2 separate regions of the Homo sapiens genome follow, and region 1 is linked to region 2. The links are contacts of gene promoters, found by promoter capture Hi-C in blood cells and fetal thymus (Javierre and others, 2016). All regions are on one chromosome and are shown on one strand. The core of a region is centred on a gene start or on the middle of the fragment in contact, and the rest is flanking DNA. Distances in the headings are between cores, read along the strand shown. Region 1 overlaps TERF1 (telomeric repeat binding factor 1). Region 2 holds the start of LACTB2 (lactamase beta 2).

What was found. The method cuts DNA at HindIII sites, captures the fragments that hold promoters and counts their contacts. A CHiCAGO score of 5 or more calls a contact.
Region 1: a contact is called between a fragment that was not itself captured here and the fragment with the promoter of LACTB2 in region 2, in 1 of 17 cell types (naive CD8 T cells). The highest score is 5.0, in naive CD8 T cells.

What each region holds. Positions count from the first base shown.
Region 1 is chr8:73,012,523-73,016,308 of GRCh38, forward strand. TERF1 (telomeric repeat binding factor 1) reads left to right here. Exons shown (of 10, transcript NM_017489.3): 2 at 1,373-1,468. Among named protein-coding and RNA genes, the nearest start is that of TERF1, 5.6 kb to the left of the region's middle. The HindIII fragment of the contact is 4,417 bases long and covers 1-3,786 here.
Region 2 is chr8:70,667,776-70,671,501 of GRCh38, forward strand. It overlaps LACTB2 (lactamase beta 2), which reads right to left and starts at 1,410. Exons shown (of 7, transcript NM_016027.3): 1 at 1,224-1,410. The coding sequence starts at 1,345. It overlaps XKR9 (XK related 9), which reads left to right and starts at 1,564. Exons shown (of 5, transcript NM_001011720.2): 1 at 1,564-1,763. The HindIII fragment of the contact is 8,354 bases long and covers 1-3,726 here.

The DNA.
Region 1 (3,786 bases), core at 454-2,953, 2.3 Mb after region 2:
ATTAGCCAGCCTTGGTGGTGGGCGCCTGTAGTCCCAGCTATGCGGGAGGCTGAGGCAGAAGAATGGCATGAACCTGGGAGGCGGAGCTTGCAGTGAGTGGAGATGCACCATTGCACTCCAGCCTGGGCGACAGAGCGTGACTCTGTCTCAAAAAAAAAAAAAGGTGCCGTTAGACTTGGCTCAAGCTGGGCTGCGGTAAACTTTCAATTTGTAAAAAACATGCAATCTGCAAAGCACAATAAAATGAGGTATGTCTGCACCTATCCTTCGTGGTACTCATTAAAATTTTAATTAGTTACTTACATAACTTTTTGTTTAATTGTGTCTTCTCAGATTAAAACCTTCATGGGGGCAGAGACTGGCTATCTGAAGTCATCACCTCCTAACACAGGCTGGCAGTAGATGTTCAGTAAATATTGAATGGCTTGTGTTTAAATTCTATATAAATTTTGTGCTCTCTTAAAATCCTGTTAAATTCTATTATGACTGTGTATGGTCCAGATAATCTCTGGTGTAGCATAAGATTATGTTAGAATTGAGGGAGGAAATTGGGTAAAAATATATTCGTCTTATATGCTTAATTGCTACAGAATTGCTTTTCAGTTTGCTAGTTATTTAAGTTTTTTATATATACACCAACCAAGCCCTGGGTTAGGTATAATGGTAGTAGTGGCACCTTCAGGTCTTAGGTTAGACATTATTTCCTCAGAGAAGCCTTCCCTGACACCTCCTCTGTGCAGAAGATACTTAAACACACAGATTTCTTGTTATATGCTTCCAAAGCATTCTGTACTTGTCTTTTTAAAGTTTTCACAACATTTTTACTTCAGTAGTTCAATCGCTTGTCTCATTGCTACATGGTAAAAAGCTCACTGTGGTCCAGGAGTATGGCTTACTTGGTATTGTATGTAATCACTGCCTGACTCAACATCTGGGTGGGCATTCAAGTTTGGGGAGGTTAATATTAATAGGTTTTAAACTTTGTAAGCTAAACAGACTCACTTAACTGAAACCTAGATAGAAATAATATAAAATATTTTCTATTATATGAAATGTTTCTAGGTATAAGTTTCCAACCAATGATTTTACACATTTTACAATTTGTATCTAAATCTTTTTTGTTAATGTAGACTGCTACTTGTGAAAGAATTTTCAACAATTTTTATTCTACATGTGAAAGTTATATTTTGTAAGAAATGTCTTCATTGCTATTCTTTTTTTTTGTTCTGAATTTTAATCAGATCTTAAATGTACAACTCTAAATTTATGATAATTTTTACAATATGTTTGTAGCCTATTACTCAACAAACCACACAGTGGCACTACTGGATCAAGTTTGATTTTAATAAAATTTACTTTTTTTCTTTTTTAGCTATTATTCATGGACTATCCAGTCTAACAGCTTGCCAGTTGAGAACGATATACATATGTCAGTTTTTGACAAGAATTGCAGCAGGAAAAACCCTTGGTAAATATGTTTTTTTATTTTATATTGGAAATATTTCAATCTGTTTCTAATGTAAGACAATGGGAAGAAACAGACGTTTTTGGGGGAAGTTTGCCTACAAGTGTCTGGTGCATAGGGGTGTGGGGGGGTGGTGTGTGTGTGTGTGTACACATACAGTCATATCTAAAGCAAGTAAAAGAAATGTAGTCCCTGTCATCTTAGAACATTGGTTCTCAAACTTTAGCCTGCTCCAGAATTACTTAAAGGGCTTATTAAAAAAAAAAAAACATAGTGCTGAGTCTCCCTAACTCTCATGAGTTTCAGATTCAGTAGGATGGGTATGGGGCTCTGAAATATACATTTCTAATAAATTCCCAGGTGATTCTGATGCTACTCTTGGGGAAGTGTGTTTCATTGACTCTATTTGCTAACTTTGTGGTGACTCCAATCATACACACTCTGTTTTTACTGGCAACTATTATATTTGAAACCTTTTATTTGAACTTGATGCCAGCGCTTACGTAAGAAGTACAGTTTATAGCTGTAATCTCTCTCCCTTGTCTCTGTAGTTCCATTTTAGATTGTAATGGGCAAGGCTGATTCAGTTTATCAGTAATGGCTGGTATTTACAACATGGTCATTTTAAAAGGCTATTTGATGGAAATAATTTTGTATTTAGATTGGTTTTTATAATTTACAAAATACTTTTCCAACAATCCTGAGTAGTGGGCAGTACTTACATAAAACTGCTTGCTTATTGAAGTGTTGTCTTACATAAAATCCCAGTGTATTAGCACCACTGTCAAGGCCTTCACTAAAGTATCTCTGGCTGATGTAGTCTGCTTTGTTTGGGGGGTGAGGGTAGGTCTGGAGTTGGTGCCAGGACCATAAATGGATAGAACTAGATAGAGGCAGAATAGTTGTGAAAGAGACAGAGCCATAGGTAGGCCTGGGCCAGTTGCTGGAGAAGTAGCAGGCTGGAGCAGAATTCCAGACCATGCAGACTATAAGTTGACACTGTTGTTAACAGGGTTGTTTTCTACATTAAGGTGGAAAAGTATTCTAAAGTGCCTGGCAGTGCTTTACACATAGCAGTTGTTCAGCACATCTTAGTTGCTTCCTGGATAACCTTTTCTCCAAAAAAGGCAGGGGGGAATCCAGATTTTATGTGTGATCTCATGGTTTAATCTTGGAATTTACCAGGATACTCTTTTGGATATATCCTAGATATAATAGGCCAGGGTCAGCTGTCAAGAATCAATGTATTTCACCATAATGCACTAAACTGAGGCAGCATTTAAAATTTTATGTATTGGATTTTTGGCTATACATAACCCTTTTGCTTTTTTTTTTTTTTTTTTAATTTTGCTCTATAGTGGCACTGCCTAATAGAGATATGTGAGCCACATGTCTAATTTAAAATTTTCTAATAGCTATGTTAAGAAAAGTAGGCCAGGCATAGTGACTCACACCTGTAATCCCAGTACTTTGGGAGGCCTAGACAGGAGGATCGCTTGAGCCTAAGAATTTGACACCAGCCTAGGCAACATAGCGAGACCCTGTCTCTACAAAAAATTTAAAAAATTGGCTGGGCGTGGTGATTCACGCCTGTAATCCCAGCACTTTGGGAGGCCGAGGTGAGCGGATCACGAGGCCAGGCAATAAAGACCATCCTTGCTAACGTGGTGAAACCCCGTCTCTACTAAAAATACAAAAAAAAATAAAAATAAAAAGTTAACCACGTGTGGTCCTCTGGAGACTGAGGTAGGATCGTTTGAGCCCAGGAGGTTGAGGCTGTGGTTAGCTGTGATTGTGCCACTTCACTTCAGCCTGAGTGACAGAATGAAATCCTGTCATGAAATTTAGAAATTCCCATTCCAGCAGGTGTAGCTAAAAAATAATAATGATAATTAAAATAGGTGGAATTAATTTTGATAATCTTATTTAACTCAATATTTCTCAAACACTATGTCAACAAGTAGTCAGTGTAAAAAATGTTAGTAAGGCCAGGCACATGGCTCACACCTGTAATCCCAGCTCTGGGAGGCTGAGGTGGGTGGATCACTTGAGCCCACGAGTTTAAGGCTGCAGTGAGCTATGATCACACCACTGCACCCCAACCTGGGCAGCACAGCAAGGCCCCCATCTCTTAAAAAAAATCAAATGAGATATTTTACCTTTTTTTGGAGTAAGTCTTTGAAATCTCATGTGTACTTTATACTTAAGGTGCATCTCAATTCAAACTAGCCATATTTTAGCTGTGCAGTAATCATGTATGGCTAGTAGCTGTGCAGTAATCATGTATGGCTAGTAGCTACCATATTGGGTTTAGTCTCCTA
Region 2 (3,726 bases), core at 160-2,659:
CTTACTGAGACAATACACTGATCTCCAACATGGTGTTCTTCTAAGAGACTTTCCAGGGTAATTCTGATAATATGCATCTTTTGTCTGAGGTATTGACTAGTTCAAGATGACACACTGTAGAGAGACCGCCTATGGATTTACTTGGTTGAGGGACTTCCAGCCAAGACAGACTGTACCCTAGAGATCTGGCATTTTTCCTGCTTAATTCTCTATCCTCCTAGATTCTGGTGGCAGCCTAAACCTTTGGTAACTACCTGACCCTGCCTTATTTACTCTGAACTTAATCTTTTACCTGCCCACTTTGCAGGTCTGCTGCTTCTAAAATTCTTATTTACTGGAAAAACGCCAAACAGTAGACACTTCCAAGGAAAACTCAATTAACTGTACTTACTAAATCGTTTTTAGTAATCAATTATATTTTAAAAATAATTTATGTCTTGACTGCACAATTAAATTCTATGCTCAAGAGAAACTACATTATCTGGGTTCATCCAGTAAAGACTACAAAAGTTGCTAAATGCCTAAGACTTACTATGCAGTAAACCAAATCTCCCATTCCTGCATAATTCCACTAAAACAGAATGCAGCTAAACAAGAGCAAAAGTATCTTCTTAGAAATACAGGTGTGTTACTGTGTCTGCAAATTAAACTCAAACAAGGTCACACACAATTGTAACAAAAAACTTCCCCAAATTACTTATGTCAGCTCCTCTTATGAGCCCACAGGCTGCAGAGAACCAATTTGGAAGCCAGGAGAATCCTGCCCTCTGCTGCTGAGTTGAGGAAATCGCCTCAACATAATTAATCGCTTTTGAGAAGGGAAGTTACACTCTGGGCAAAACACCAGTGAAAGTCAAGTGAGCAAAGTAAACGCTTTCTTGGACTCTTGACATCCGAATTTTCTCAACAGTTTAAACACGCACACCCTGGCATTCAAACATCAAGAACAGTAAATCGGGTTTCAAAACAGAAGTTTTTTTTTTTTTTTTTTTTTTTTTTTCCATTTCTCCCTAAATTAGAGAGCTATCACCTGGGGTGGTCGTATTTTAGCTAGCTTCGAGATCCGAGTGTCTGCGTGCAGTCCCGACGGGGCTGCTAGGCGCGGGGCTGCCCAGCTAGGGACAGGACGCGGCGCTCTCCACTGCCCGCGCAGCCGCGATCAGTCAAAGCCCGGGCTCCGGGGCCGGCTGCGAACGTTGGGGAGGTTGGAGAGGGACGTTTACCTGGGGCCGGTCCCCACTAGGTAGGTGTTGGTGCCTTGGAGGGTCATGGGACCCGGGTTACAGCCCAACACACGCACGACTCGATTGGACAGCCGCTCGACGCGCTGCAGTACAGCAGCCATTCCCGCCTCAGCCGCCCGCCGGCGTGTCGCCTATCTGGATACTCCAGCGCGGAAGAAGCCAACAGGCCGGGGATAGCGAGTAGCGTCCACGTGATGCCTCGCAACCCGGGAGGGAGGGGATTGGCCAGCGGCTGGTCCAGGTGTCATGTGACACCGCGGACGAGCCGGGGCGGGGATCCGGCAGCTAGGCCGGGGGGTGGGGGGGGCGGTGCGGAACTAGAGGTCACGTGACGCCGCGCGGGCTGCGCGGGCAGTGGTGGGAAGGCTGGCGCGAGGCGTGAGGTGGCGTGAGGCGAAGCTGGAATCTGCCTCTGTCACGGGGGCTGGTGCCTCACGGGTTTGTGTCCTAGACAGGCGAGTGGATCCAAGTGGGCGAGAGACATTTTAATCTGGAAGAGTCTTGTGATTTGGGAGACAGGTTTGGTAACCGTTCGTTATTCAGTAATAAATGTCAGGAAGGATTGCCAGATTTTTAGGCAGTGGCTCTGTGTGTGTGTGTGTGTGTGTGTGTGTGTGTGTAGTAGTAGTAGTAGTAGCCTGTTCATTTTTTTTTTTTTTTTTTTTGAGACGAAGTCTCGGTCTGTCGCCCAGGCTGGAGTGCAGTGGCGCGATCTCGGCTCACTGCAAGCCCCGCCTCCCGGGTTCACGCCATCCTCCTGCCTCGGCCTCCCGAGTAGCTGGGACTATAGGCGTCCGCCACCACGCCCGGCTAATTTTTTGTATTTTTAGTAGAGACCGGGTTTCATTGTGTTAGCCAGGAAGGTCTTGATCTCCTGACCTCGTGATCCGCCCGCCTCGGCCTCCCAAAGTGCTGGGATTACAGGCGTGAGCTACCACGCCGGGCCAGCCTGTTCATCTTTTATAATAAATAGTGGTAAGACATATTTACTTAGTACTTCCTACTATGCCTAAGTGCTTTCAACAAACATCCGACTTAACGCCCTTAATCCTCAGAACATTATTAAGAGGTGGACACTATTTTTGTTACAAATGAAAAACGGGGATTGGGCAGCTGCCCAGATGACAGAGTCTGCGTGTGCGGCCTTGCTCCTACCTGCCTCGCACTAACACTTGTCCCCCTCAGTGAGATTCAAGGAGCATGCCTCTGCCTGCCAGTGTTACCTGCCTGCCCAGAGAGCTAGGCTGGTCTTGTGGAGCCGTTTTGTGCCCAAGATGGAAGGGACTCATTTTCTCTGTAACAAGTCGGTTTCTTATCAGCCAAGTATTAACTATCCAGTGTTAACTACAGCTTCCCATAAAAAAAGTTGAGTTATAAATTACTTAAAAGAAAATACACAGATCCTGTAGACAGTTCCATCGAGTTATGACAATTGTATGTAATCACTGCCCCAAAGAGATGTAGAACATATCCACTGTAGCAGCCCACTCTTTTTTTTTTTAAAAAAAGGTGAGAAATTGACACATACAGTGCTTGGTGGCTTTTTTTTTTCCAGATATTTCTGATGAAGAAAACGATCTGCTCTTACCTATTTTATGAATCAGCAGCATAGTGTATCAGAGTGGCTAATGACATCTGCTTTGTGTGTGAGAAATGTCTTTGCCTTGTTTCACACAGTTGTACTTTTAATGGAAAAATATTCAAAAAATCATCGCTGAAATAATCATATAAGTTATCCCCTGTTGCAATGGGAAGTTAAACAGTATACCCTTCAAAAAATACTTAAAGTAACCAAATCTCCTACATCAGGCATTTCAATCTGTCAATATGTATTTATGATAGCCATCAATTAATGGCTATTCAGGCAGGAGGCTTTGCACATCTTCCCTTTTTAAGAACTCTGCTGGAAAGTCAGTGAACCCTGGAGAAGAGGATGGAACAGTAATTTCTGGACCAGATTCCTGAGAATCTGGGCACTCCCCTTCTTTTATTCTTTGGCTTAATTAATTTCCTTACTTAACTTACTTATTTACTTACAGGGTCTGGCTTTCACCCGGGCTGCAGTGCAGTGGCACTATCATAGCTCACTGTAACCTTGAACTCTTGAACTCAAGCGATTCAGGTGATCCTCCTGCTTTGGTCTCCCAAAGTGCTAGGATTGCAGGCTTGAGCCACCATGCCTGGCTGAGATAAACTTTTTAGCTCCCACGTATGAATGAGAATATGTGATATTTGTCTTTCTATGCATGGATTATTTCACTTATCATAATCTCTAGTTCCATCCATGTTGCTGAAAATGACATGATCTCATTTTTTTTTTTTTTTTATTATACTCTAAGTTTTAGGGTACATGTGCACATTGTGCAGGTTAGTTACATATGTATACATGTGCCATGCTGGTGCGCTGCACCCACTAATGTGTCATCTAGCATTAGGTATATCTCCCAATGCTATCCCTCCCCCCTTCCCCGACCCCACCACA